5 separate regions of the Homo sapiens genome follow, and all the other regions are linked to region 1. Evidence: promoter capture Hi-C in 16 types of primary human blood cells and fetal thymus (Javierre and others, 2016). All regions are on one chromosome and are shown on one strand. The core of a region is centred on a gene start or on the middle of the fragment in contact, and the rest is flanking DNA. Distances in the headings are between cores, read along the strand shown. Region 1 holds the start of MAZ (MYC associated zinc finger protein). Region 2 holds the start of PRR14 (proline rich 14). Region 3 holds the start of SEPTIN1 (septin 1). Region 4 holds the start of RABEP2 (rabaptin, RAB GTPase binding effector protein 2). Region 5 overlaps DCTPP1 (dCTP pyrophosphatase 1).

Evidence for each region. The method cuts DNA at HindIII sites, captures the fragments that hold promoters and counts their contacts. A CHiCAGO score of 5 or more calls a contact.
Region 2: a contact is called between a fragment that was not itself captured here and the fragment with the promoter of MAZ in region 1, in 3 of 17 cell types (non-activated CD4 T cells, erythroblasts and naive CD4 T cells). The highest score is 6.6, in non-activated CD4 T cells.
Region 3: a contact is called between the fragment with the promoter of SEPTIN1 here and the fragment with the promoter of MAZ in region 1, in 1 of 17 cell types (activated CD4 T cells). The highest score is 5.5, in activated CD4 T cells.
Region 4: a contact is called between the fragment with the promoter of RABEP2 here and the fragment with the promoter of MAZ in region 1, in 3 of 17 cell types (fetal thymus, naive B cells and total B cells). The highest score is 8.8, in fetal thymus.
Region 5: a contact is called between a fragment that was not itself captured here and the fragment with the promoter of MAZ in region 1, in 1 of 17 cell types (fetal thymus). The highest score is 5.7, in fetal thymus.

Annotation. Positions count from the first base shown.
Region 1 is chr16:29,803,447-29,809,391 of GRCh38, forward strand. It overlaps MAZ (MYC associated zinc finger protein), which reads left to right and starts at 3,083. Exons shown (of 5, transcript NM_002383.4): 1 at 3,083-3,447; 2 at 3,532-4,382; 3 at 4,784-4,847; 4 at 5,124-5,295. The coding sequence starts at 3,256. It overlaps KIF22 (kinesin family member 22), which reads left to right. Exons shown (of 14, transcript NM_007317.3): 10 at 3-162; 11 at 552-619; 12 at 1,368-1,580; 13 at 1,669-1,728; 14 at 1,817-1,938. The coding sequence ends at 1,864. MVP-DT (MVP divergent transcript) reads right to left here. Exons shown (of 4, transcript NR_186424.1): 4 at 5,198-5,687. RefSeq lists silencers at 1,584-1,633, 2,374-2,713, 2,844-2,983, 3,884-4,553 and enhancers at 2,014-2,063, 4,634-4,873. The HindIII fragment of the contact is 3,714 bases long and covers 875-4,588 here.
Region 2 is chr16:30,648,984-30,655,098 of GRCh38, forward strand. PRR14 (proline rich 14) reads left to right here and starts at 1,977. Exons shown (of 12, transcript NM_024031.5): 1 at 1,977-2,144; 2 at 2,613-2,685; 3 at 2,813-2,981; 4 at 3,738-3,859; 5 at 3,931-4,120; 6 at 4,382-4,425; 7 at 5,247-5,356; 8 at 5,646-6,115. The coding sequence starts at 2,663. RefSeq lists enhancers at 699-1,216, 1,217-1,732, 1,436-1,845 and silencers at 1,866-2,065, 2,336-2,625. The HindIII fragment of the contact is 597 bases long and covers 1,162-1,758 here.
Region 3 is chr16:30,379,946-30,385,811 of GRCh38, forward strand. It overlaps SEPTIN1 (septin 1), which reads right to left and starts at 2,616. Exons shown (of 11, transcript NM_001365977.2): 1 at 2,580-2,616; 2 at 2,330-2,420; 3 at 2,148-2,234; 4 at 1,815-1,938; 5 at 1,394-1,528; 6 at 1,182-1,299; 7 at 1-88. The coding sequence starts at 2,597. It also overlaps a transcript of ZNF48 not described here. The HindIII fragment of the contact is 7,382 bases long and covers 1,057-5,866 here.
Region 4 is chr16:28,923,541-28,929,133 of GRCh38, forward strand. RABEP2 (rabaptin, RAB GTPase binding effector protein 2) reads right to left here and starts at 1,698. Exons shown (of 13, transcript NM_024816.3): 1 at 1,563-1,698; 2 at 863-1,075. The coding sequence starts at 1,623. RefSeq lists enhancers at 830-919, 950-1,179, 2,158-2,741 and silencers at 1,340-1,559, 1,590-1,939. The HindIII fragment of the contact is 8,433 bases long and covers 1-3,626 here.
Region 5 is chr16:30,424,014-30,429,338 of GRCh38, forward strand. DCTPP1 (dCTP pyrophosphatase 1) reads right to left here. Exons shown (of 3, transcript NM_024096.2): 2 at 5,044-5,154; 3 at 1-520. The coding sequence ends at 220. Among named protein-coding and RNA genes, the nearest start is that of DCTPP1, 3.4 kb to the right of the region's middle. RefSeq lists enhancers at 4,120-4,620, 4,621-5,121. The HindIII fragment of the contact is 4,285 bases long and covers 741-5,025 here.

The DNA of each region.
Region 1 (5,945 bases), core at 1,833-4,332:
AGAGGCTTAAGACGAAGCAAAAAGAACTGGAGGCCAAGATGTTGGCCCAGAAGGCTGAGGAAAAGGAGAACCATTGTCCCACAATGCTCCGGCCCCTTTCACATCGCACAGTCACAGGGGCAAAGCCCCTGAAAAAGGCTGTGGTGATGCCCCTACAGCTAAGTAAGTTTGACTCCAGGGGCTGGGGGGCCAAGGCAGCTGAGATCCTATAAGGGAGGAAGTGTTAGGAGCAGCTGTCTCCATGTCATTCATATTCTCCCACCACATACCAGTCCCAGGGAGGGGTGAGGAGGCTCTGAGGCAGTGCTGGGGGTGCTCTGCCCTCGGGTGTTTAGGACAGTGGGATGGACAAACGAGTAGAGGATTGAAGATAATGCAAGACTGACTGAAATTCCTTTAAATGCGGGTATAAAAAAGGTCATGTGGAAACACAACAGGTTAACTCTGGATGGAGGGGAGCTGGGGAATCAGAAATGGAAGAATCGAAGGGCTACCAGGGAGGGTGAAAAGTACCCTTTGCCCTGACTCCAATTCTCGATTCCTACTTTCAGTTCAGGAGCAGGCAGCATCCCCAAATGCCGAGATCCACATCCTGAAGAATAAAGGCCGGAAGAGAAAGGTGAAAGTAGCTGGGGGCTTAGGCTACACCTGGAGCCCAGAAGTAAGGGGGAGTAGGCTCTAGGGGGAGGAGCGTTGGCCTTGGGGTTAAACGAACTGGATGATGGCCGCCAGCTACTAACAGACCTCAACTTGCTTACCCCTGGAATGTGGTGATGGATGGTTCCTTGCAGGGCATTTAGGGTGGAAGGCAGTGATGTGGATGTACCTCGCAGAGCGGATGTTCCACTGTGTAGCCTGGCTTCTACCCTCTACAAGCTTAAGAGGGAAAACTTAGGGAACTATGACCTAAGCAGTCAAGCAAGAAACCACACATATGCACATACCCAGAATCGAACACCACTAGAACTACCCAAAAACTGAGATGGTTGGGGGAGGTATCATTTATTCATATTACTTTCTCCCATGTACTTTTTGAAAGACAGCTTATTCTTTCCCTTTTAGAGATGAGGGACCAGATTTAAGAGCTTATTTTGTGCTTTACATTCATTAACTCACTTGATCTCCACAGCAACTCCATGAGAAGGGTGCTAATATTACCACTGGGTACTGAGTAGTACCTCTCTTTCACTAGTTGCATAATAAGAATTAACCCAGAGAGTGACCTGAGGGCGGGATTTTGGACACACTTGACAAGAGAGGAAGAGGCTGGAGCGCAGGAGGTAGCTGGTGCTGGGCTCCTAGTCTTGGCAGAGGAGCCCAAAGCACTTGGCTGCCCTGCGTGTCACTCATCTCCCTTTGCCTCCCAGCTGGAGTCCCTGGATGCCCTAGAGCCTGAGGAGAAGGCTGAGGACTGCTGGGAGCTACAGATCAGCCCGGAGCTACTGGCTCATGGGCGCCAAAAAATACTGGATCTGCTGAACGAAGGCTCAGCCCGAGATCTCCGCAGTCTTCAGCGCATTGGCCCGAAGAAGGCCCAGCTAATCGTGGGCTGGCGGGAGCTCCACGGCCCCTTCAGCCAGGTAGCAGCCCACTGGACTGGGGGAGGGCGGGGGCGGGGGAGACCGGGTACCCCCGAGACCCTGTCCCCTATCGATCCTGTCCCGCCAGGTGGAGGACCTGGAACGCGTGGAGGGCATAACGGGGAAACAGATGGAGTCCTTCCTGAAGGTGAAGTCACGGCCCTGCCCCTCCTCTGCCTGTCCTGCGCCCCGCGCCCCTCTCTAACGTCGCTGTCTCCCTCCCTCCTGTGTTGCAGGCAAACATCCTGGGTCTCGCCGCCGGCCAGCGCTGTGGCGCCTCCTGACCGTCGTCTCCTCACTCCGCCTTTTCAAATTTTTGTATAACCCCGTGTTGTGTAAATACAGTTTTTGCTCCGGTGCTTCCGCCTGATTTTTGGGGCTGCGGGGGCGGGACCGGGGTGTGACCGCCTCGGGGTGGGCCGCGAGCAAGGCAGGCGACTCCACTGGGCGCCATCTTCGGGGAACGACTCAGCGCAGGATTGTAAATACACCGCTGGGGTGGGGCGGGGAGGACGGTGGCCTGCAGGACGCAAAAAGCGGAAGCCGAAGCATGAGGCCTGCGACCGTTAGGCGGGCGCGCGCTCAGGGATTAGCCCCGCCCCGTCCGTGCCCCCGGCGCGCGCGCTCCCCCATTCTCCCGCTCGGCAACGACGGCGGCCTTGTGCGCGTGCGCGCGAAATAACGGCCGCTGGCGGAGGGAGGGGGAGTGGAATCGTTGGCGGGGGGAAGAGGAGAGAAGCCGCCCTGTCTCCCGCGCGCCCACCACCTGCGCCATCGTCAGCCAATCAGCAGCCGTCTCAGGGGTCTCGCGCTCGGGGCGACTCGGGCTGCTGGGTGGCTCCCCCGTCCCTCCTCCCGCCAGAGTCCCTCTCGCGCCTGCCCCTCCCGCTGGCCACGCGCGCGCTCGCGCTAGCGCTCGCGCCCGCTCCAGCCTCTTGTGTGTCCTCGCGCCCCCCGCCCGCCCTCCCCGCGCGTAGTGTGCTCCGCTTCCCCCACCCTCCACCTCCCCCCTCCTGCCCGCCCCGCGCGCCTCCTCCCGGGTTCCCCCTCCCCCACCGCCGCCGCCTCCTCCTCCCGCCCCAGGGTGAGCGCGAGCCACCTCCCTCCCTCCCTCCGCCATGGATCCCAGCAACTGGAGCAGCTTCATCTTCCAGGTAACAACTCCCTCCCCCCGCCCCCACCCCCCTGCCCACACCCCCTCCTGCCCGCCCTCCCTCCCGTCCCACCCCCCCTCCGCGCGCCCGGTGCGCGCGCAGCTGTCCCCCTCCCTCCCTCGCGCCCTCCCCCGCCCTCCCCGAGGCGCCGGCTGGGCGCGCGCGCGGCGGGGGCCGAGGCTGCTCCCTCGCTCCCCCCACCCCGCCCCGCCAGGCTCCAACCGCCGCCGCCGCCGCCGCCGCCGCCCGGGCCCCCGCCCCCGGCCCCGGCCCCGCGGGGCCTCCCGCCCCCACCCAGGGGGCGTCGCCGCCGCCGTCGCCGCGGCGCTCCGCGGCCCGCAAGGCGCCCTCTTTTCCTCCCTCCCGCCGGCCGGGGTGCGCGGGCGGCGGGGCGGCCCGCGGGCCATGCGTTCGGCGCGGCCCAGCCCGGCCGGCCGGGGGCGGCGCCCCGAGCCCGGGCCCCGCGCGGCCCGCGCCCCCGGCCCCCGCTGAGCCCCGGGGGCCCCGCTGCGGCCGAGGCCATGTTCCCGGTGTTTCCTTGCACGCTGCTGGCCCCCCCCTTCCCCGTGCTGGGCCTGGACTCCCGGGGGGTGGGCGGCCTCATGAACTCCTTCCCGCCACCTCAGGGTCACGCCCAGAACCCCCTGCAGGTCGGGGCTGAGCTCCAGTCCCGCTTCTTTGCCTCCCAGGGCTGCGCCCAGAGTCCATTCCAGGTGAGTAGGGCCGGCCGCGGCGGCCCGGGCTGGGGGGGGACGCCCGCCCGCACCCGCGGCCCACTCGGCGCCTTGTCTCCGCAGGCCGCGCCGGCGCCCCCGCCCACGCCCCAGGCCCCGGCGGCCGAGCCCCTCCAGGTGGACTTGCTCCCGGTGCTCGCCGCCGCCCAGGAGTCCGCCGCGGCTGCTGCGGCCGCTGCCGCCGCTGCTGCCGCCGTCGCTGCCGCGCCCCCGGCCCCTGCCGCCGCCTCTACGGTGGACACAGCGGCCCTGAAGCAGCCTCCGGCGCCCCCTCCGCCACCCCCGCCAGTGTCGGCGCCCGCGGCCGAGGCCGCGCCCCCCGCCTCCGCCGCCACTATCGCCGCGGCGGCGGCCACCGCCGTCGTAGCCCCAACCTCGACGGTCGCCGTGGCCCCGGTCGCGTCTGCCTTGGAGAAGAAGACAAAGAGCAAGGGGCCCTACATCTGCGCTCTGTGCGCCAAGGAGTTCAAGAACGGCTACAATCTCCGGAGGCACGAAGCCATCCACACGGGAGCCAAGGCCGGCCGGGTCCCCTCGGGTGCTATGAAGATGCCGACCATGGTGCCCCTGAGCCTCCTGAGCGTGCCCCAGCTGAGCGGAGCCGGCGGGGGAGGGGGAGAGGCGGGTGCCGGCGGCGGCGCTGCCGCAGTGGCCGCCGGTGGCGTGGTGACCACGACCGCCTCGGGGAAGCGCATCCGGAAGAACCATGCCTGCGAGATGTGTGGCAAGGCCTTCCGCGACGTCTACCACCTGAACCGACACAAGCTGTCGCACTCGGACGAGAAGCCCTACCAGTGCCCGGTGTGCCAGCAGCGCTTCAAGCGCAAGGACCGCATGAGCTACCACGTGCGCTCACATGACGGCGCTGTGCACAAGCCCTACAACTGCTCCCACTGTGGCAAGAGCTTCTCCCGGTGTGCACGGGGCCTCGGCCGCCCGCTAGGCCGTGGGGAGGGAGGGACGCGACGGAGGTGGCCTGGCCGTGGCTGGCGGGGAGGGAGGCGGCTGCTGAGGCTGGGGAAGGGGAGCCACTCCCAGGGCGGAGGGAGGAAGCCTCTCCCGGTTACCAGGGAGCAAGGGGTGGTCCTTTGTCGAGGAGGTGGGCCTTGGGGTTGACGGAAGCTTCGCGTGGGAGGAGGCGGCGGCGGCGGCAGCGGCTGCTGGGCTCCAGGGGAGGGATTTCCTGCTTAAGTGTCGCTGTGACGGCCTGGGCTCCGGGAGGAGGCGCAGGGATCCTCGGAAAGGCCTGTGGTGCGGTTTGGTGGATTTGGGGCGCACCACCTCCGCCCTAACCCCAACCCCAACGTGTCCCCAGGCCGGATCACCTCAACAGTCACGTCAGACAAGTGCACTCAACAGAACGGCCCTTCAAATGTGAGGTAGGAAGCCCGCCTCCTCCTGTCTTGGTTTTCATGATTTTGATCCTCATGGTAGCTGTCTGAGTCAGTCTCTCAGACCCCCTTTTTCTCTCTCTTCTTTTTGCCTTTTTGCTCCATTTTCTCATCCCTTCTTCAAGGCCTCATCATGTCACTCCCATTTCCTACAGATCAAAGATCCCCAAGGCTCTGATTCCTTTAATCTCTTGCTCCCCCCTCCCCAGCCCACCAAGCTTTAACTCTCCTGTGACACCCCCCACGCCCCTCCCCCCTCCTCAGAAATGTGAGGCAGCTTTCGCCACGAAGGATCGGCTGCGGGCGCACACAGTACGACACGAGGAGAAAGTGCCATGTCACGTGTGTGGCAAGATGCTGAGCTCGGCTTATATTTCGGACCACATGAAGGTGCACAGCCAGGGTCCTCACCATGTCTGTGAGCTCTGCAACAAAGGTACATGCCGAGGGCTGCCGGGAGGGCCAGGGGCAGAGGGTGGGCGCCTGGCCAGACGCCTTGCCACGGATACGGGTTAAGGGTGCTGTAGCCAAGAGCTCGTGGCGTCTAGATTCCTACAAGAGGTCAAGGGAGCAGCGGGGGGACACCTGAATGAACATCATTAGACTCTAAGAAGTCCTGGTTGGAAGAGATGATCTGCCAGAGAGGTTGAACCTCCTGGTAATGTGTGGGGAAAGCGGGAGTGGAACTTGGCTGCTCTGGGGAAGGAGTAGTCAAGAAAGCCAGTTCCAGGGGTCACAAGGCAAGGTTTCCGCTGCGCAGCCACAAGGTCTTGTCTCCAGCTCCTGGGGCAGGTGGAGTACACGGGCCGGGCTTTACCAGCACGCACCCTGCACGGGTAGCAGAGAAAGCTGCCTTCAGTCAGACTCACCGGTTAACTGGGTTGAGACCGCGGGGCACTGGAGGGAAGGGGACACAGCCGTCTCTGCTGAGGGTCAACCCTGCAAGTGGCTAGGAGTCAGTGTCTCGTCATCCTGGGAGAGGTCTCCCGGCCATGGAGAATGAGTTCTGTAGGTACCAAGGCTGAGAAGCGGGCACCACACAAGCCAGGCCCCAGGCTCAGGGAGGGGCTGTGTCTACCAGCCCCA
Region 2 (6,115 bases), core at 210-2,709, 840 kb after region 1:
AGAACCACGGCGGCCTGCTCCCACCAGAAGTCTGAATGGGTTTCCAGAGGACCCAGCGGACCTCCTGTTACAGAGATGCTGTAGTCCTGCAAGAACGTCTCCCTGCATGAGTCCTTAGGGACGGAGCTGGGGAGCCTCCATTTCCCACATAAGCCCTTCTCGATTATGCTTTCCATATCATCCCTTGTTTGTTTGTCTGTTTTGAGACAGGGTCTCTGTCGCCCAGGCTAGAGTGCAGTGGCGCGATCATAGCCCACTGCAGCTGCGACCTCCCAGGCTCAAGAGAGCCTCCCACCTCAGCCTCCTGAGTAGCTGGGACTACAGGCGTGCGCCACCATGCTCGGCTCATTTTTTTGTATTTTTTTTTTTAGAGATGGGGTCTTGCCATGTTGGCCGGGCTGGTCTTGAACTCCTGGCCTCAAGTGATCCGCTATCTTCTGCCTCCCAAAGTGCTGGGATAACAGGTGTGAGCCACCACACCCGGCCCTGTTTTATCACTTTCATCACTCAATCCCCTGAGAATTATGACACCTAAACCAGGAAGCACCTCTGCACCTTATCTCGGACCCAGGATTCTAGGCTTCAGGGTCTCTCGTTCTGTTAAGAAAACAAAATAAGGACTCGTGCTGGGCGCTCACGCCTGTAATCCCAGCACTTTGGGACGCTGAGGCGGGAGGACTACTTGAGCCCAGGTGTTCAAGATCAGCCTGGGCAACATAGCGAGATCCTGCCTCAAATTAAAAAAAAAAAATTAAAAAAGAAAAGAAGTACTGGTTTGGACCAGGGAATCTGGGGAAGGAGAACTAGTGCAGACATGGGCTTTGGTTAAGCGGTCAGGGCACCTTCATAGCGCTGCAAGAAGCCACTACATGCCCACTTCCTCCCCACCAACAGCCCAGCTTCCAGTAAAGGGTCCATGACGCAGCTCCTCCAAGCAGCAGCGTCCCACCCTGATCCCTTACTCCTCAGGACTATTTACACCTCCCCCATCCTGCGGGCCCCACTTGAGACAGTGGTTCCTGAGAGCCGGGCCCCACTAGCAAGCCAAGGTATATTCTTGGCCTCCTGCAAAGATGCCCCTGTCCTATAGACCTCTGCGCGGACCGTGGGCACCCCCACTTCTCCAGGAAGAAGTAGGTGGGCAACACTCAGGGGAAGTCAAGCTTAGCGCCCCCAGTCTCCTCCCCACTTCGGCTCGGTCCCATCTCTCCAGGACAAGGCGCCAGCAACGGAGCCACAGGCCGCACCAGCCCGTCTTTGATCCCGGGTGTTCGGACTCAGGGCCTCCACCACCCCCTCCTAAACTCGGACCCTGGGCCGTGGGAACCCAGTTTAGGAACCCAGGAAGATGCCGGAACCTTCCTCAAACGAGGCCACTCTAGGAAATTGGGAATTTCACATATCGTTAGCACTCAGTCGACGTTTATTGGCCTAAGAACGAAAGAACCGGAAGATGCCCTTAAAAAGCGTGGCGGCACTCTAGCTTCAATCGGTTGCCTCAACATATCAAGAAACCTGGCATTGTATATGGCCCTCAAAAGATGACGCCACCCGGTCCACCACGGTTCAACGAGGACTAAGACATCTGCCCTCAACCATCATGGCGGCGCCACTCAGTTTGGCTTCCTGCCCCTAGGGATGATGGCCGCCAGGTGGCTTCACTTAGTTTCTCACCACCCCGGAAGACGGGGACCGGCGATTGGGCGGTGTCCAGAGGCTCCGAGAAGAAGGCCATCGGCGGTTGGGCAGCGTTGGGTAAGCTTGGTTTTTAAAGGAGCCGGAGGTGGGAGCTGCGGAAGACCCGGGATCCACGGGAGGCGGCGGTGAGCAGCCCTTGGGGGAGGGCAAGGAGTGGCTGGAGAGAGGGCGGGAGTGGGGGCGGGGAAGGAAACTTCTGAACCATCTGGTCCCGGGCCGGGGGAGACCGCTGGGCGGGGACGCGAGGAGGGAAGGGGCGTCTGTGGGCGGGACCTCCCGGGATTGGAGTGAAGAGGGTATCTGCTTGACAGTGGATCCCTGGGGATCTACGCTGAGTTCGGAGATGCTCCAGCTCGGGCCGCCCCTGTCTGAGCGGAGCTTTGCGGCGCTGAAGCTTACAGGGGAAGGAAAAGCCTCGCCCGGCGTCTGATTGGCGGAACCGCGCTGTAGGATTCTTTCCTCAGGGATCCAGTCTAGGGGATCTGGTGGGATGGAGGGTCGTCGATGTATGGAGTATTGCTTTGGAGTCCTCGGCCACTCGCTGGGAGAGGAGGAGGATCGCAGAGGGATCCAGCGGAAATAGCCTCCCAGGACCGGGATCCCCGTGGATCCCGGGGGATCTCGGGGCATAATCTGCAGGGACAAAGGCCTCGGGAGGCTCGGGCCGCGGGAGAACTGGGGCCGCTGCATTCTGGGTTCTGGCGGCAGGTGCCAGGCAGGGCGCGAGTGATCCGCTGATCGAGGCGGTGGCAGCGGGAGGACACCCGCTCCGGGCGACCGGCCGGGGGCGCCCTTTCGCGCCCCAGGGCTGCGGCCGCTGGGCTACGGGGAGCCGCGGGCGGACCATGAAGGGCGGAGCCCCAGGGAAGGGGCCGGCCCTCACCCCCCGCTCCCCCGCTCCCCCCTTACCCCAGGCCGCAGCCTGGGATTCCCCAGGGACCCCCCCGGAGCCGCCGCGTCTCCCATGGACTTGCCCGGGGACTCCAGGTGAGAGCGTACCCGGGCGGCCCGCCTGTCTTGACCCCGGGAGATGGGGATCCTGGCGACCGTGCCGGGAAACTACAGAGCCAGCGACAGGTTCGGGCGACCGTCCTCTGCTTCTTTCACCCTCCAGCCCGCCTGGCCAGCCGCGTCTGTGCCGCCAGCCTCTGACTCGAGCATTATGGGGAGCCAGGAGCCCGAAACGGCCGAGGCTGCAGCTCCCGGGGGCCCCTTCTCCCCTGGAAAAGGCCTCTCGGCGGGTCCTGGCCGTGGTGCTAGAAGATGTCATGGCTGTTCACATGGTGAGCCCCCTGAACCAAGAGACTCTCTATTCCCCCATGACTTTCCTCACTACCAAACTCGGGCCAGATCCCTACTGAGGATAACTGAAGTCCAAATCCATCATTGTTGTACTCAGCCCTCAGGCAGCCTCCCTCATGGTAGAGTCCTGCTTGGCTCCCACTTACTCCAACCTAGAATTGGGCAGTGCCCATTCCACCCACCAACGATTTTGGGCTGGAACCACATCCCTGTAACTCTGAGAAACTCTTCTGCTTCTTTTTTTCTATCTTTTTTTTTTTTTTAGAGACAGGGTCTTGCTATGTTGCACAAGCTGGTCTCAAACTGGCATCAAGCGATCTTCCCATCTCTGCCTCCCAAAGTATTGGGATTACAGGCGTGAGCCACGGCGCTGGGCCGAAACTCTTCTGCTTTCTTCCCAGCCCAGCCTCCTTAGGAAGCAGGCTGAGGTCTTTGACTCCACTGCACAGATAAGAAAAACTGGCCCAAAAAAGGCAGTGACCCACCCTAGCTCACCCTGTCTTTTTCATTTCTCTAAACAGCGTGGATGAGATTACCCAGGTCCTACACCTGCAGTTTAGGACTCTTAATATCTGGCCCCTAATTCAGTCCAATTCATCTCTTCTCTTGGGATCCGAGTGAATTCTAGCCCCAATCTCTGTTATGTTTGTGGCTCAGGGCACTGTGAGGCACAGGGAAACCTTGTCCCGTCCAGCCTCATTCTATCACCTTGCTCTTGACACCTCTTTCTCTTCCAGGTCCCCGTGGTGCCCTCAAAGCAGACCTCCATACCACAGCACCACAGCTACCATCAGGATCCTGTCCACAGGCAGCCGCCTGCCTCGCCACCCCGGCAGGCCGGGTGGTCCTCGCAGGCCAGGTGAGCATGGCAGGATGGGGGTAAGCCGAGGGCCCAGCTGAGCCATTTTAATCTTCCTGTTCCCTCGCTAGGCCTCCCGACCCTCTGTGTTTGTGTCGCGAGCCCTTGAGCCGCATCCACCGGACCTCTTCCACCCTGAGGCGGCGATCAAGGACAACCCCTGGCCCAGAGGAGGGCCCTTCACAAAAGGTGGACCGGGCCCCCCAGCCCACCCTGGTGGTGATGCTGGAAGACATCGCCAGTCCTAGACCCCCCGCTGAGGTATGGGAACTGAGGGTACGGATGTCAAGGGTTCTGCTGGGTTCCAGCAGGGATAGAAGGGTAGGAGGCCTGAGTCTTAGGTGGGTTTTTCTTGGGGTGAGGAGGATGGCATTTTAGGCGGCAGACACTGCCTGAGCAAAGACTATATAAAAACGTCTTTGGCGTGAACCCAAGCAGCTATCCGGGAACTGAAAGAGTCAGGATGTGGGGCACTAAGGGGGCTTTCCTGCCTCCCCACAAACATCCCCTATTTTTATCCAGGGCTTCATTGATGAGACCCCCAACTTCATCATCCCAGCACAAAGGTGAGAGGGCTGGAGTAGGGATTATCAAAGGATCCAGGCAACAGCCATCATCCAGGTAGCCAGAGCTAGGGGCATCGGGACTGACTGATCCAATCCTTCCTTGTGGCATCTTAAAAAGCCTTAAGGGGCCGGGCACGCCCATGCCTAATGCCAGCACTTTAGGAGGCCAAGGCAGGAGAATCGCTTGAGCCCAGGAGTTTGAGGCCAGCCTGGGCAACCACATCACTGTGACCATATCTCTACAAAACGTTTTGTTTATTTATTTGTTTGTTTTTGAGATGGAGTTTTTGCTCTGTTGCCCAGGCTGGAGTGCAATGGTGCGATCTCAGCTCACTGCAACCTCTGCCTCCTGGGTTCAAGTGATTCTCCTGCCTCAGCCTCCCGAGTAGCTGGGATTACAGGCATCCGCCACAATGCCCGGCTAGTTTTTGTATGTTTAGTAGAGACGAGGTTTCACCACGTTGGCCAGGCTCTTGAACTCCTGACCTCAGGTGATCCACCCACCTCGGCCTCCCAAAGTGCTGGGATTACAGGCGAGAGCCACCATGCTCAGACAAGATATTGTTTTAAATTAGTTGGATGTGGTGGTCCATGCATGTAGTTCTAGCCACTTGGGAGGCTGAGGTGGGAGGACTGCCTGAGCCTGGGAGTTCAAGGCTGCAGTGAGCTGAGATTGTGCCCCTGCACTCCAGCCTGGGCCACAGAGCAAGGCTCTGTCTCAAAAAAAAAAAAAAAGAAGAAGCCTTAAGGGATAGGGGAGTTGCTGGCTCAGGTGGGATACCTGGAAGTTCCCCTAGCCTTTACCTTGCCCTTCACCCCAGAGCTGAGCCCATGAGGATAGTTCGCCAGCCAACGCCTCCACCTGGGGACCTAGAACCCCCATTCCAGCCATCTGCTCTGCCTGCAGACCCTCTGGAGAGCCCACCAACAGGTAAGGACTTGGGTAGAGATCGGATGAGACTTGGGTGTCTGGGACATCCTAGTTGAGCTTGGAAGTGTCAGGTACAGAGTTGGGGATAGGGCTTAAGCCACCTCCCAGGGCAGGGCTTGGTATATAAAGATGGGATGTTGATGTCAGAGGCTTGAAGTTCAATTCTTAAATGCAGAACTTAGTGTTTTAAGGGTGGGCTAATTCCCCTGTGCACAAAGTTGAGCATGTGGGGAGGGGCTGAGACACTGCAGCCAAGGAATATCCACCTGTGACCCTCTCCTTTCCTCAGCCCCAGATCCTGCTCTGGAGCTCCCATCCACCCCACCACCGTCCAGCCTTTTACGCCCCCGCCTCAGTCCCTGGGGCTTGGCCCCGCTCTTCCGTTCCGTCCGCTCCAAGCTGGAGAGCTTTGCTGACATCTTCCTCACGCCCAACAAAACCCCACAGCCCCCACCCCCGTCCCCCCCAATGAAGCTGGAGTTGAAGATCGCCATCTCAGAGGCCGAGCAGTCTGGGGCTGCTGAGGGCACTGCGTCTGTCAGCCCCCGGCCCCCAATCCGCCAGTGGCGAACTCAGGACCACAATACCCCAGCACTTCTCCCTAAGCCCTCTCTGGGCCGAAGCTACTCCTGCCCTGATCTGGGGCCCCCTGGCCCAGGTACCTGCACCTGGCCACCTGCTCCACCCCAACCAAGCCGACCACGGCCGCGGCGGCACACTGTGGGTGGTGGGGAAATGGCCCGAGCCCCGCCACCCCCT
Region 3 (5,866 bases), core at 1,366-3,865, 580 kb after region 1:
CCTGCCTCTTGAAGTCTTCATCTTCATCAGAGTCACATTCGGGGAACTGGTAGATGTGGATCTCCTCTTCCTTCAACTGATCCCGGATCTCAGGGGAAACAGATATAGAGACAGTGTGAAACGGGCCACAATGACAGACATTTCATGACCAGAGACAGTGAGACACAGAGATACTGGGTGGTCAGAGACAGAGAGAAAGACATGAAAGACAGAGATGGGGAGAGATGGACATACAGGAAGACAAAAACAAAATCTCAGAGACATAGATGGTGAGAAACACAAGATTCTAAGATGGGGCAGACATTAAGAGACCAGGAGAAGCCTGGGCAATATAGCTAGATCCCATCTCTACAACAAATATACACATATATTTTGAAACAAGGTTTCACTCTATCACCCAGGCTGGAGTCCAGTGGCTCCATCTTGGTTCACTGCAGCCTCAACCTCTCAGGCTCAGGTGATCCTCCCATCTCAGCCTCCTGAGTAACTGGGACTACAAGTGCACACCACCACACCTGGCTGGTTTTTGTACTTTTTGTAGAGATGGGGTTTTACCATGTTGCCGTGGCTTGTCTTAAACTCTTCAGCTCAAGCAGTCCACTGACCTCAGCCTCCCAAAGTGCTGGGATTAACAGGTGTCTGCCACCAAGCCCAGCCAAAAAAATATTTTTTAAGTTAGCCAGGCATGGTGGTGTTCATCTATAGTCCCTGCTACTCAAGAGGCTGAGGCAGGAGGATCACTTGCGCCTACAAGTTCGAGGCTGCAGTGAGCTCTGATCTTGCCACTGTACTGCAGCCTGGGCCACAGAGTGAGACTCTATCTAAAAAAAAAAAGAGAGAGAAAGAGAGGCCGAGAGAGATATAAGCAGAAACAGTGGGAAAGGGCTCTGAAGACACGGGGTGGGGGCCAGAGGGAAGTCACTATGTTCTCATGTCTATGCTCCTGCCCTCAAATAGGCCTCAGCCAGGCATCTAGCCCGGGGGCTGCATATGTAGCCTATTTTGAGCCTTCAGAGACATGGCTATGCTGGCGGCTTACCACCCGCCTTCCTCAGAAGCTTCTCCTACAATCTAGCCTGATGCACCATGCTCCAGAAAGGCCACTTCAAGATCAAAGAAGTCTAAGCTGAAATCAGGTTTGGCTTCACATGGGGTCAAAGGTCAGAGGTCATCACTCACACCTTCTGCTTGAGGGCCTGGGTTTCCTGGGGCATCAGAGCATCCGCTTTGCCAATGACTGGGATGATGTTGACTTTCTCGTGTACTGCCCGGAGGAAGGCCACATCTAGGGGCCGGAGCCTGCACCCAGGGATTGGTCATTGCCCAGCCTCAGGGGGCAGAGACCCCCCAGCCCTCCCTAAATGCGCCAGCCCCCAGGATCCCCCCACCAGACCCCCGGCCGAAGGGTGAGATGAAGTAGAGGCAGCAGTGGACTCGGGAGTCCTGGATGTTCTTCCGGTTCAGGCCACTCTCATCCCTAAGGTACTGCTCAAATTGCTCCTCGATGAATTTCACCACCGGAAGCCAGCTGGGTGTGGGGAGAGGATGTGAGGTCAGAGATCAAAGGCCAGAGGGCAGGGGGCAAGGCTAGCCAGGACTGTGGGAGTAGAATGTCATTTCTTTGGCTCCCTCCAAAGACATTAAGGGGAACTGGTGGGGGCCTAGGTGAGTCATCAAGAAGCACAGGGACCCAGTGGCCCTCTGAAACAGACACCACCTTTTGAGATAGGGAGCCAGCACAAACCAGTCCTGTAACTCTCCAGGGAGTCGCCACTGTGAAAGGCTGAGCCTCTGTCCCCTTTCCTCTTCCTCACCAGTCAGAGCAGTCCACTGAGTCCCCAAAGCCAGGTGTGTCCACAAGGGTCAGCTTCACTTTCACACCCCCTTCCTCAATCTCTACGCCCCGGCGCTCAATGGCCAGGGTCTGTGTCAAGCGAGCTGTGGGATGGGGGAGAGGTCAGGGATCCGGGGAGGCTCTGAGGCAGAATTAATTTCCTTTGTCAATATCACAGTTGCCTGCACCCATTTCCCAGGGGAGGAAAGTCTCAGAAAAAAAGCAGTCAACTACCTGAGTCCCCAGATGGAAAAGACTAGGGTGTAACCTGGGGACAGGGGCTACTGCCTCAAGAGGGTGGGGAGGGTCTTACCACTGGCCTCTGGCACCTGGCGATCCTCATAGAGGTTGGTGAGGAAGAGGCTGTTGATGAGGGTGGATTTCCCTAGGCCTGACTCCCCTGTGGACAGAACAGGCCCAACTGGTCAGGGGAGGGGACAGCCAGGGCCTCCTAAGGACATCCCCTCCGCAGTTCCCTCTCCAAAACCCCCAGACCTGCCACCATTAGCGTGAAGTCAAACCCCTTCTTGACAGACTTGCGGTGCAGCTGGTTGGGGAGGGCAGCAAAACCCACGTACTCCTTGTCCTATGGATGGGGGTGGACAATATGAGGCTGCTGGCAATGGCAGGCAGGGTCCCCAGGATCACTTGAGTTCCTGGGCTAGGAAGAGTCAGTGGGGTCTGGGGACCCCAGGCATGGGGGCTGGGGGCCGAGATGCCCAGGTTTCTGGGTGTAAGGACTCACCATGACTCCGCCAGCCATCACTGCACCTGCCGTCTCTCCCCACTTCCTCTGGTGGGGCAGGAAGCTGAGTGCGGCTAACAAGGGGGCGGGCAGAAGAGGCAGCTGAGATGCTCAAACTGGCCCAGTCCCAGAGAGGTGGGGAAGGCCAAGGCCAAGAACACTTGGGGTTGCCACCTCCTGGACCCCTTTGCCCATCACCTGTCTACGTACCTTCAACCCTCCATCCTTCACACATCTGGATTCCAAGTCCCACTGTAGCTCCATCATCGTGGTGAGACATGGGGTATGTGCAGAGAGGAAGGAAGTGGCTCCCTTTGTTAGCAGGGGAGATGAAGGTTTTGATGAGCTGATTAGAAAACAGTTCCCAGGACGGGCAAGGTGGCTCTCGCCTGTAATCTCAGCACTTTGGGAGGCGGAGGAGGGAGGACAGCTTGAGCCAAGGAGTTCCAGACCAGCCTGGGCAACAGAGGGACGTGCCCCTCTACCATCTCTACAAAACATTAAAAAATTAGCCAGGCATGTTGGTACAATCCTGTAGTCCCAGCTACTGGGGAGGCTGAGGTGGGAGGATTGCATGAGCCCAGAAGATCAAGACTGCAGTGAGCTGTGATCACACCACTACACTCCAGCCTGAGCAACACAGCAAAACCCTGTTTCTTTTTCTTTCTTTCTTTCTTTTTTTGAGACGGAGTCTCGCTCTGTTGCCCAGGCTGGAGTGTAGTGGCGCCATCTCGGCTCACTGCAAGCTCCACCTCCCGGGTTCCCGCCATTCTCCTGCCTCAGCCTCCCGAGTAGCTGGGACTACAGGCACCTGCTACCGCGCCTGGCTAATTTTTTTGTGTTTTTAGTAGAGACGAGATTTCACCGTGTTAGCCAGGATGGTTTCGATCTCCTGACCTCGTGATCTGCCCGCCTCGGCCTCCCAAACTGCTGGGATTACGGGCGTGAGCCACCATGCCAGGCCAACGCTGTTTCAAAAAAAGAAAAAGAAAAAAGTGGACCAGAAGCCATGATGGGATTGGGAGTGGGTGAAGCCATACATTTTCCAGCTCAGACAATGGATTCATAAAAGGACTCCAGGTCTTTGGACACCACTGCCCGAGAGATTTTCCTTCAGAATCCTGGCCAAAGAACTCCACTGCTCAAAATCCTTCAGGAACTCCCCAGTAACTCAGAGTCAAGTCTGAATTCTGGCCTGACTGCCAAAGCCTCCCTCAGCTGGCCTCATCACCCCATCTCTCACTCTTCCAAACGTCCTTGGCTCTCTACCCACATTGAGCTTTTCCTTTTTCTGAATCAGTTAAACTCTTCCTCATCCTTCAAGTGTTTCTTTCCAAGGGCTCTGCCTCTATGCAATCTCTCCACCTACCCTAGGCAGGGTCATTGTCCCTCCTTCAGATTCCCAGCACCTGGCTGGCGTGGTGGCTCACACCTGTAATCCCAGCACTTTGGGAGGCCGAGGCGGGTGGATCACTTGAGGCCAGGAGTTCAAGACCAGCCTGGCCAACATGGCGAGACCCTGTCTAGCAAAAATACAAAAATTAGCCAGGCATGGTGGTGCGTACCTATAATTCCAGCTACTTGGGAATCTGAGGCAAGAGAATTGCTTGAGCCCAGGAGGTGGAGGTTGCAGTGAGCCGAGATTGCACCGCTACACTCCATCCTGGGCAACAGAGCAAGACCCTATCTCAAACAAACAAACAAACAAACAAATCTACCTCAGGACCGCTGCGGTGGCTCACACCTGTAATCCCAGCACTTTGGGAGGCTGAGTCGGGCAGATCACGAGGTCAAGAGATTGAGACCATCCTGGCCAACATGGTGAAACCCCATCTCTACTAAAAATACAAAAAATTAGCTGGGCATGGTGGCATTGCCTGTAGTCCCAGCTACTCAGGAGGCTAAAGCAGAATTGCTTGAACCCAGGAGGTGGAGGTTGCAGCGAGCCAAGATCGTGCCACTGCACTCCAGCCTGGTGACAGAGCAAGACTCCGTCTCAAAAAACAAAAAACAAACAAACAAAAATGCTACTTAATACCATCTAGGGACTGTTAAGAATCTGGAAAGGGGGGCTGGGTGCGGTGGCTCATGCCTGTAATTCCAGCATTTTGGGAGGACAGGGCAGTCGGATCACTTGAGGCCAGGAGTTCGAGACCAGCCTGGCCAACATGGTGAAACCCCCGTCTCTACTAAGAATACAAAAATTAGCCAGGCATGGTGGTGCACGCCTGTAATCACAGCTACTAGGGAGGCTGAGGCAGGAGAATTGCTAGAACCTGAGAGGCGTAGGTTGCAGTGAGCCAAGATCCTGCCACTGCACTCCAGCCTGGGCGACAGGGCAAGACTCCGTCTCAAAAAAATAAATAAGTAGGCCAGGCGCGGTGGCTCATGCCTGTAATCCCAGCACTTTGGGAGGCTGAGTCAGGCAGATCACCTGTGGTCAGGAGTTCGAGACCAGCCTGAGCAACATGGAGAAACCCTGACTCTACTAAAAATACAAAATTAGCAGGGCGTGATGGCGCATGCCTGTAATCCCAGCTACACGGGAGCTGAAGCAGGAGAATCACTTGAACCTGGGAGGTGAAGTTTGCGGTGAGCTGAGATTGTGCCATTGCACTCCAATCTGGGCAACAAGAGCAAAACTCTTTCTCAAATAATAATAATAATAATAATAATAATAATAATAATAATAATAATATAAATAAATAAATAAGCAAAGGGCAGGGATCATGTTACCTCTCAGCACTCCACCACCGGCCTTCCTCCTGCATCTCTCACCAGGTTGAGCATCTCTATGGTCTTAGTTAAAATTCTGAAATCAGCCGGGTGTGGTGGTTCACGCCTGTAATCCCAGGACTTGGGGAGGCCAAGGCAGGCAGATCAGAAGGTCAGGAGATCGAGACCATCCTGGCCAACATGGTGAAACCCCGTCTCTACTAAAAATACAAAAATTAGTTGGATGTGGTGGCGCGTGCCTGTAATCCCAGCTACTTGGGAGGCTGAGGCACAAGAATCACTTGAACCCAGGAGGCGCAGGTTGCAGTGAGCCAAGATCACACCACTGCACTCCAGCCTGGCGACAGAGCAAGACTCTGTCTCAAAAAAAAGGAAAAAAAACTTTCTGAACTCCTCCCACTCTCACTCCCCACAAGTGTTTCCAGTGAGTTTCCAATTCCCACCTATCCTTCAGAAAAATTGGTCCCCTTTTCTTCACACTCTCCATGCCATTAACCTGCTTTGGGTTCAGACCCTGATCAACTCTTCTCTGAGTTATTCAACAGCCTTTG
Region 4 (5,593 bases), core at 448-2,947, 880 kb before region 1:
CTATTTAAAGAACAAATATTAAGTAAACAGCACAGTAAGTTGTACAAGGATGTGTCTACATTGCACAGGCAGGTGGATCCTGAAATGTGGGAAATACAGCCCCAGAGAAGTCTCCAGCCACCAGCAGCTGTTAGAAAGGGAAATCGCATGTTGGGAAGGGAATTTTAGGAAGTTTACTCTGGAAGCCAATGTCAAGGCCACACTATAGAGGAAGATCTGTGAGAAGGTTGGGACAAAAGTCCAGGAGAGAGTTGACGAGAGCCCCACCGCAGCAGGGGCATAGCAGCGGGGGCAGCTCTGACATCTGTTTCAGAGTCTCTGGCTTCTGCTAGAGGAAGGAGAGTAGAAAACAGGATCAGCAGCTGGGGCGTCTGGGGCCAGAGGACCAAGTACAAAGAACGTGGGGCGGAGGTGGGGAAGCTGGTGCATGGCGTGGGGTGGAGGGGGGAGTGTCTGGGGAAGGCTAGAGAGCAGAGCATTAGACTCACAGAGACTGGGCCAGGGCTGATTCTATTTCCCAGAAGTCCAGACTAAAATGAGGTTGGTTTGGGGAACTGAGAAGTTTCTCGCCCATCTTCAGGGTTGATCAATCATCAGTGAGGGACAAGAAATGACATGGGACAAGGCAACAGATAGAAGCTGGGAGCTAAACTTAGCTATAACTGACAGAGCTGCTGCTATCACATGGAGGGCCTCTATGCAAATTTTAAAAGGGCGGCCCTTCCTCTGGGCCATAGGCATGCCCTGTGCCAGGCAGCCCTGCTAACCTATCCCATAGCTTATCTGTGCCCCCAATCCCTTTCTCGTCATGCACTCCCCAGTATGGGGTTGATGGGGAGTCTAGGTGAGTCCCGCGTCTCACCTTTCAGGATGGCCTGCAGCGAGGCCACCTCCTCTTGGCACTGCCGCTGCACCGCAGCCACAGCCTCGGCCTTCGTGCTCTCGCTCACCTCTGCCACAGCCTTCATGGTTTCCATTTCTGCCAGGGCGCCTGCCAGCTCAGCCCGAAGCCGGCTGAGCTCACCTGACTCGGCCTCACCATTTGCCCCTTCCTGGGACCGGGAGTCCTCCAGTGCTGTGGGGGACAGGGATCAGCCTCTCTTCCCATCTCTTACCCCAGGCCACCTACCGGCTTAGCAAGTCCTGCAACCTAGTACTGTTGCCTTCATCTGGGGCCTCCTTCACCTGGGCCCGCCCGGCTCACCTGGCCCCGCCCCTGCCCCGCCCCCTTCCCACTCGCTCTGCCGGGTGCTGCCTACACTCCATCTCTTCGCGGTGGCCAGTTTCACTCAGTCCTCTCTTCGGTCCCACCTGGCCCCGCCCTCCTAGTGGCCGCGCCCCTTCCTCACCGGGCCCCACTTCGCACCTGTCACTGGCCCTACCCCTTCAATGGCCGGGCCACGCCCCCTTTTGCCTGTGGCTGTAGGCCCCGCCCCCTTTCCCGACGGCGTGGCCCCGCCCCTTCCTCCATCATCCCTCTCCACCCCCCATCCGCAGGTGGCTGGCTCGGCCCCGCCCCCAGCATCACCGTTCCCCGCTTGCACGGACGCCCCCTCACGTACCAGCCCCCGGCCGCCGCCGCCGCTCATCGTCGTCCGCGGCCACCGGCGCAGCTGCCGCCATTGCCTCAGCGCAAACGGCGGATTCCCGCACTCCCTGGTGACGGAGCGCACCGCTTCCGGGTCCTCTCGGCTGTTTCCGGATCCGCTCGGCTGTTTCCGGATCGGCCCCGGGCTGGAGGCCCCGGACGGAGGATGGGGGGATTGCCGAGCCTCGGCCGAAGATTCCCGAGTCGGCCCCCGGCCCCGGCCCCGGCCCCGCCCCGGCTCTTCTTGGCTGGGTCGCGCGGTTCGGGAGGACGCCTGCCTTTCAAGCCCGGAAGAGGATCCTTAAGAGGTCTTGCCCGGCGTCTCTCCGTGACCTTGGAAGCCCTGCTCCAATTATGCCTCCTCCGGGACACCGGCCTGCGGAGAGCTCCCCCTCGCTCCCTCGCTGCCCCTGCCCGGAGCCAGCCTTTGATCGGCTCCGGCCGCCCTTCCGCCCGAGCCTGGCTTGCGTTACCGCGAATTGTGGCGGGGCCCTCCCTGCACCTCCGCCCTCTTGGAGCGTCCCTCGGGGCAGGGCCGGGTCGGCTTCATTTTTCTGAGCGCCTCGGAGTCCCCGCGTAGTTAGTCGGAGTCTGAAACTTGCACGTCCCCACCCCCATTTTGTTACTCAGCCAGTCACCGCTTCCTGCTGGCCCCCCTTTCCTCCTCCCAACGCCCTCAAATCCCTCCTCTCCTCTCCGCCTGTGTCTAGATCAGGCTCTTTATCTGTGACCTCCACCCGGACGGTGACAGGCAATTCAGATTTATGTCCAGAGCCTTGGTTCCCCTTCCCTCAAACCTTTTTTCCCTCTGTAAAGGACACGCCAGGAACCTGGAAGTCCTTGATTCTACGTGTCCTCCTGCAAGTCCCGTAAACTCTACTTCCAATGTGCTGACTATTCCAGAATGTGCCCCTTTTTCTCCATCTCCAGCGCTAACACTCCGTCCCAGCTCCCATCACTTCTCCTGAACTTCCGCAGTGTCGACTCCACCCTTTAATTAATTAATTCTCCGTAAAGCAGCTGGAGCGATTTTTGTAAAACAGATAATGCAGTTTGAAAATGGCCAAAGGTAGAACGCTTTTACACTGTTGGTGGGAATGTAAATTAGTTCAACCATTGTGGAAGACAGTGTGGTGATTCCTCAAAGACCTAGAACCAGAAATACCATTTGACCCAGAAATCCCATTACTGGGTATATACCTAAAGGAATATAAATCATTCTATTACAAAGATACATGCACGAGTATGTTCATTGAAGCACTATTCAAAATAGCAAAGACATGGACTCAACCCAAATGCCCATCAATGATAGACTGGATAAAGAAAATGTGGTACATATACACCATGGAATACTATACAGCCATAAAAAGGAACGAGATCATGTCCTTTGCAGGGACATGGATGAAGCTAGAAGCTATTATCCTCAGCAAATTAATGCAGCAACAGAAAGCTAAACATGCATGTTCTCACTTATAAGTGGGAGCTGAACAATGAGAACACATGGACACAGGGAGGGGACCAACACACATGGGGGCCTGTGGGGTGGGTGTTGGGAGGGGGGAGGGAGAGCATCAGCAAGAGTAGCTAATGCATCCTGGGCTTGATACCTAGGTGATGGGTTAATGGGTGCGGTAAACTACCATGGCAGATGTTTCCCTGTGTAACAAACCTGCACATCGTGCACATGTACCCCAGAACTTGAAATAAAGAAAATGGACAAAGGATATGAACGGATATTTCACTGCTGTCACAGGTGGCAATATGTGCATGAAAAGATGTTAAACATCATTAGCTATTTATTCGGGAAATACAAATTAAAACCACAATTGCTTTCATCACTACGCACTTCTTGGAATGGCTAAAATAAGAATGCTAACACCAAATGCTGGTGAGTATGTGGAGAAACTAGGTTTCTCATATTTTGTTGATGGGAATGTGAAATGGTATAGCCACTCTGCAAAAAGAGTATGGCAGTTTTGAACAAAACTAAACACGCACTTACTTTTTCATCAAGTATAAAACCAAGTGTTTTCCACCAAGCTTGGAGCTGAGGTCTCGGCTCAAATGTTACCTCCTCAGTGAGGCCTTCCCTGATCACCCTAACTAAAATAACCACCTCTGGCTGAGTGTGGTGGCTTATGCCTATAATGCTAGCACTTTAGGAGGCCAATGGCAGGAGGATCACTTGAGCCCAGGGGTTCGAGACCAGCCTGAACAACATAGTGAGACCTCATCTCTACAAAAAATTAAAAAATTAGCTGGGCATGGCCGGACACGGTGGCTCACGCCTGTAATCCCAGCACTTTGGGAGGCTGAGGAGGGCGGATCACGAGGTTAGGAGATCAAGACCATCCTGGCTAACATGGTGAAACCCTGTCTCTACTAAAAATACAAAAAATTAGCCGGGCATGGTGGCATGCGCCTATAGTCCCAGCTACTTGGGAGGCTGAGGCAGGAGAATTGCTTGAACCCGGGAGGCAGAGGTTGCAGTGAGCTGAGATCATGCCATTACACTCCAGCCTGGGCAGCAGAGCAAGACTCTGTCTCAAAAAAAAAAAAAAATTAGCTGGGCATGGTGATGTGCATCTGTAGTCCAAGCTACTCAAGAGGCTGAGGCGGGAAGATCTACTTGAGCCCTGGAGGCTGAGGCTGCAGTGAGCATGATTGTGCCACTGCACTCCAGCCTGAGGGAGAGAAAGACCCTGTCTAAAAAAAAAAAAAAAAAATTAAATCCAGACTCCCTGTGCATGCAGCAGGGTTTCTGGGGAAGGGGCTGAAATAATGACTAGAAATCAGCCTCCAGTCAGTTTGGGGAGGGCCTTCCTGACAGCTCTCAGGTTTGAGTTTATCCTGCAGGCCCTGGGAGCCACTGAAGGCCATTGAACAGGGGAAGCACATGACTAACATCAAAGAAGTTCTCTTGACATGCGGAGTGTAGATGGGAACCAAAAGATATAGGGGACAGGGAGCCCAGGAGAGAGGCTGTTGAATTGCTTCTGATTGTGAAGGAAGGATTCAGAGGGGAAAATTGATTCCATCAATATTTAGGATATAAAATGGACTGGCCTTGATGATAGAGTGCATGTGGGGGAAGAGAAAAGAAAATTTCGACCAGATGCGGTGGCTCATGCCTGTAATCCCAGCACTTTGGGAGGCTGAGTTGGGTGGATCACCTGAGGTCAGGAGTTCAAGACCAGCCTGGCCAACATGGTGAAACCTTGTCTCTACTAAAAATAGAAAAATTAGCTGGGCGTGGTGGTGCGCACCTGTAATCCCAGCTACTCAGGTGGCTGAGGCAGGAGAATCACTTGAACCTGGAAGGCAGATGTTGCAGTGAGCCGAGATCGCATTACTGTACTCCAGCCTGGGCAACAAGAGTGAAACTCTGTCTCAAAAAAAAAAAAAGAAAAGAAAATTTTCTTTCAGCTAGGTACGGTGGCTCATGCCTGTAATCCCAGCACTTTGGGAGGCTGAGGCAGGAAGATTGCCTGGGCCCAGGAGTTCAAGACCAGCCTGGGCAATATAGTGAGAAAGGAGAATAAAAGGAGCTTTCCTCGCCTCTACAAAAAAAGGGAGAGAGTTTTCTTCCTAACTTCTTTTCCTTTTTTTTTTTTTTTGAAATGCTCTTGTCTCCCAGGCTGGAGTGCAATGGCGCGATCTTCACTCACTGCAACCTCCGCCTTTCAAGTTCAAGCGATTCTCCTGCTTCAGCCTCCCAAGTAGCTGGGATTACAAGCGCGCACCACCGCACCAAGCTAATTTTTGTATTTTTAGTAGAGATGGGGTTTCACCATGTTGGCCAGGCTGGCCTTGAACTCCTGACCTCAAATGATCCGCCCCGCTCAGTCTCTCAAAGTGCTGGGATTACATGAGCTACCTTGCCTGGCCCCTAACTTCTTTTCTTTCCTTTATCCAGCAAATACCTATTGAGTGTCTACTAGATGCCTGTGCACATCTAGGGATGGTAAAGATTTCTGTTCTCAAAGAACATTCTGGTGCAGGAGG
Region 5 (5,325 bases), core at 1,633-4,132, 620 kb after region 1:
GCCATCCAGGAATAATCTAGAAGTTATCGCCCAAAACCATTTTACTGGGAGAACAAACACCAGGAGGCTACCTTCTAGAGGCTGCTGGGCCTCAGACCTCAAGAAGTGGAGGCCTCAGGCCCATGATCTATTCTGAAAAGACTAGAAAAAGGCTCCAGGGCCAGGCCACTCTCTGCTCTTCAGACACCACCCTGAGTTGCAAGTCCTGTGGCCATCTTTCTAGGTTGAGGTCTGGCCTGTGGAGTCACAGGGAATGTCCGCAGGCCCCACAGCCTGGTCTTCAGAGATGGCCCCATGGGGCAATTCTGTATACTTGCGGGAAGAGCTGCGGGCCAGATGGGCTGGGTAGCGTCGCCGGTTGATGTCCATTTTGGAGAGCACTGCTAGCGGCAGATCCACACGGCAGCGGGCTGCTAATGCCACCAGGTAGATGAGGACGTCACTAAGCTCCTCTTGAAGGGCTGCCCGTTCCCTGGGGGACCAGCCTTGGGGGCCAGGTTCCCCATCGGTTTTCCACTGACTAGGGGCAGAACACAGACAGACACACACTCAGATGTAACCTGGGGCAATGGGCTCTGCCAGTCCTTGCAGTAATAACACCCACCTCCAAGGACGACCTAACCAATCTGGGCCCTGGGAAGAGTCAGGTGGGGAAGAGACCCCGACAGATGATACCAAGATGTCTGTGTCTCTCCCTGGGCCAAGGAGTGGCCAAAAGAATGTTTCATCTGTTGAGACAAAGCTTTGAGGCCCAATTCTAATTCTCTCCAGCCCTAGCCGTCACCACCACAGACCAAACCTCGGACCTGGACCACTGCAGAAGCCTCCCCACTCATCTCCTGGCTAGCTCATCTTCTACTCCTGCCCAGACCATCTTTTCTATTTTTTGAGACGGAGTCTCGCTCTGTCGCCCAGGCTGGAGTGGAGTGCAATGGGGCGATACTGCAACCTCCGCCTCCCGGGTTCAAGCGATTCTCCTGCCTCCGTCTTCCGAGTTGCTGGGATTACAGGCATGTGCCGCCATGCCCGGCTAATTTTGTTTTTCTAGTAGAGACAGGGTTTTGCCATATTGGCCAGGCTGGTCTCGAACTCCTGACCTCAGGTGAGCCGCCCTCCTCGGCCTCTCAAAGTGCTGGGATTACAGGCATGAGCCACCGCACCCGGCCCACACCATCTTTTAAAAGCACAAATCAGGCTTGGCGCAGTGGCTCACGCCTATAATCCCAGCACTTGGGGAGGCTGAAGCGGGTGGATCATGAGGTCAGGAGTTCAAGACCAGCCTGGCCAAGATGGTGAAACCCCGTCTCTACTAAATATACAAAAAAATTAGCTGGGCATGGTGGTGGGCACCTATAATCCCAGGTACTCAGGAGGCTGAGGCAGAGAAATTCTTGAACCCAGGAGGCAGAGGTTGCAGTGAGCCGAGATCGCACCACAGCATTCCAGCCTGGGAAACAGAGCAAGACTCCGTCTCAAAAAAACAACAAAACAAAACAAAATGAAACAAAAAAAATTGGCTGGGTGCCATGGCTCATGCCTGTAATCCCAGCACTTTGGGAGGGTGAAGTGGGTAGATCACCTGAGGTCAGGAGTCCGAGACCAGCCTGGCCAACAAGGTGAAACCCCATCTCTACAGAAAATACGAATTAGTTAGGCATAGTGGCGCATGCCTGTAATCTCAGCTACTTGGGAGGCTGAGGCAGGAGGGCAGAAGAATCGCTTGAACCCGGGAGGCGGAGGTTGCAGTGACCCGCCATGACGCCATCACACTCCAGCCTTGGTAACAGGAGCAGAACTCCGTCTCAAAAACTAAACAAAACAAAACAAAACGAGACCCCACAAATTGTATTTTTCCCCTTCTCTGCTAAAATACAAACTGTGCTTGGAATACAATCTAAACTCTTGACAAAGCCCTCCTGTCCTGCATGGGCTGACGCCTGCCTTTTCCAATGCCACTGCCCCCCACTCTCACTCCCCGCCTAAGGCCACTTTGGCTTGTTCTGCCTTGCACACAGGCCAGACTGTCACAGGCCTTTTGCATTCACTGCTCCCTCTGCCTTGAATGCTTCCCCATCCCCCATCATTCCCAGGGCTAGCTCCTTCCTGTTATTCAGGGCTCAGCCTAGATGTCACCTCCTGGCTCGTCACCTTGTGTGTTTTTTGTTTGTTCGTTTTTGTTTTTGACAGAGTCTTGCTCTGTCGCCCAGGCTGGAGTGCAGTGGCACGATCTTGGCTCACTGCAAGCTCCGCCTCCCAGGTTCACGCCATTCTCCTGCCTCAGCCTCCTGAGTAGCTGCGACTACAGGCGCCTGCCACCACACCCAGCTAATTTTTTGTATTTTTAGTAGAGATGGGGTTTCACCGTGTCAGCCAGGATGGTCTCGATCTCCTGACCTCATGATCCGCCTGCCTTGGTCTCCCAAAATGCTGGGATTACAGGTGTGAGCCACAGCACCTGGCCGGTTTTTTTTTTTTTTTGAGACAGAGTCTTGCTGTTGCCTAAGCTGGAGTGCAATGGCGTGATCTTGGCTCACTGCCAGCTCTGCCTCCCGGATTCAAGCGATTCTCCTGCCTCAGCCTCCTGAGTAGCTGTGATTATAGGCGCCTGTGACCACACCCGGCTAATTTTTGTATTTTTAGTAGAGACAGGGTTTCAGCCTGTTGGCCAGGCTGGTCTTTTTTGTTTTGTTTTGTTTTGTTTTTTGAGACGGAGTCTTGCTCTGTCGCCCTGGCTGGAATGCAGTGGCACAATCTTGGCTTACTGCAACCTCTGCCTCCAGGGTTCAAGCAATTCTCCTGCCTCAGCCTCACGAGTAGCTGGGACTACAGGGGTGTGCCACCATGCCCAGCTAATGGTTGTATTTTTTAGTAGAGACAGGGTTTCACCATGTTGGCCAGGCTGGTCTTGAACTCCTGACCTCAGGTGATCTGCCTGCCTCGGCCTCCCAAAGTGCTGGGATTACAGGTGTGAGCCACCGCACCTGGACCTTTTTCGTTGGGTTTTTTTTTTTTTTGAGACGGAGCCTTGCTCTGTCGCCCAGGCTAGAGTGCAGTGGCGCGATCTCGGCTCACTGCAAGCTCCGCCTCCTGGGTTCACGCCATTCTCCTGCCTCAGCCTCCTGCGTAGCTGGGACTACAGGCGCCCGCCACCACGCCCGGCTAATTTTTTTGTATTTTTAGTAGAGACGGGGTTTCACCGTGTTAGCCAGGATGGTCTTGATCTCCTAACCTCATGATCTGCCCGTCTCAGCCTCCCAAAGTGCTGGGATTACAGGTGTGAGCCACCCCGCCCAGCCCCTTTTTTGTTTTTTTTTTTTAAGGCAGAGTCTTGCTCTGTCGCCCAGGCTGGAGTGCCATGGTGTGATCTTGGCTAACTGCAGTCTCTGCCTCCTGGGTTCAAGCGATTCTTGTGCCTCAGCCTCCTGAGTAGCTGGGATTACAGGCGCCCGCCACCATGCCTGGCTAATTTTTGTATTTTTAGTAGAGACAGGGTTTCACCATGTTGGCCAGACTGGGTCATCACCTTGTGTTCTTTTCCTCATAGAACTTGTCATAATTCCAGATCTTCTAATATGAGATTACTGATTTACTGTCAATCTCCTTCCACTGTGAAGGTGGAAACCTTTCTGCCTTGTTCCAGGCCATATCTCAATTCTAGAAGACCTAGCACATAGGTGATGTTCATAAATCTGTCATGAGGCCATGTGCAGTGGTTCAACCTGTAACCCCAGTGCTGCGGGATGGTGAGGCAAGTGAATCACTTGAGACCAGGAGTTTGAGACCAGCCTGGGCAACAACAGCGAGAGATCCCATCTCTACAAAAAGTAAAAATAAATTAGCCAGGCTTGGTGGTGGCGCACGCCTGTAGACCCAGCTACTCCGAAGGCTGAGGTGGGAGGATCGTTTGAGCTCCTGAGGCTTCAGTGAGCTATGATCACACCAGTACACTCCAGCCTCAGCAACAGAGTGAGACCTTTTCTCTTAAAAAAATGACTGTCCTGGTCTAGGGCTCATCGCCTCTTGCCTGGTCTACACCAGCCAACTCTCTGGTGTCCCCTGCCCCATTCTCTCAGTGATCCATCCAATCCACCCTGTAGACACAGTGACCTTTCCAACACTCATATCTGGTCAGGTCTTCTGTCCAAACTCTCCATCATACTCTAGCCCTAATCATATCTTTGTGGGTTCAACTCCCACCCCTCTCCTCCACAGCCCTATCACTCATCCAACGTGTGCCTATTGAGCGCCTACTATGCGCTGGGCACTTGGGACACATCAGAGAAAACAGATCCCAAATCCCTGATTTTTCCTGAGATGCTTACAATGAAGGAGCGTCAGATTCTCCCTGAATTGAACTTGCCCTTTCTTGCCTCACTGCCCCTGCAAATGTAGTTCCCATGTCTGGAATGCCACAGGCAGGTCCTCTACAGAATACCTTCCTTTCAGCCCCAGAGGCAGAGGAAAAGGGTTGTTGGGCCAGGCGTGGTGGCTCACCCCTGTAATCCCAGCACTTTGGGAGGCCAAGGCGGGTGGATCACCTGAGGTCAGGAATTTGAGACTAGCCTGACCAATATGGTGAAACCCCGTCTCCACTAAAAATACAAAAATTAGCCAGGCGTGGTGGGGGGCACCTGTAGTCCCAGCTACTCGGGGGGCTGAGACAGAACTGCTTAAACCCAGGAGGCGGATGTTGCAGTGAGCCGAAATTGAGCCACTGCACTCCAGCCTGGGCGACAGAGCGAGACCCCGTCTCAAAAAAAAGCCAAAAAAACAAAAAACAAAAGAAGGGAAAAGGGTTGTTGCCACTGCTTCTTCCTAGACGGGACCTGTCCTGATGCTTTCACACCTCACACCTCTCTCTTCCAGGAGGCTGAGTGCCCCTAGAGGGCAGGGACCCGTGAGTCCTCTCTGCATCCCAACAACAGCAAAGAGCCTAGCAATCAGGAGGGGAAACTGAACCCATGAATGTTTGAAGACCAAATAAATGCTCCCCTCCCCTCCCCCACAACTCAGACTCTACCAGGAAGCTTTCCATCTACTCACAAGAGTTCTGCCAGCTCCCCCACTTCCCCAACCAAGGCCAGGAGGAGATTCCGAGGCTGATGGAACTGTTCCCAGTCTCGTTCCGCAGCAAACTCAGCATGGAGGCGGCGGCTGAAATAGGACAAAGGAGTGTAAGTCCAAGTCTCCGGGTTAGAGGGTGATGCAGGGGCCAGAGGCAGCTACCCCCGTAGTATGTAATGGGGCCTGGGACCAGGAGATTCTGCAACTAATTCATTGGATGGTATTGTGCAGGTCATTTCCTCTTTCCGGAACTTGGTTCCC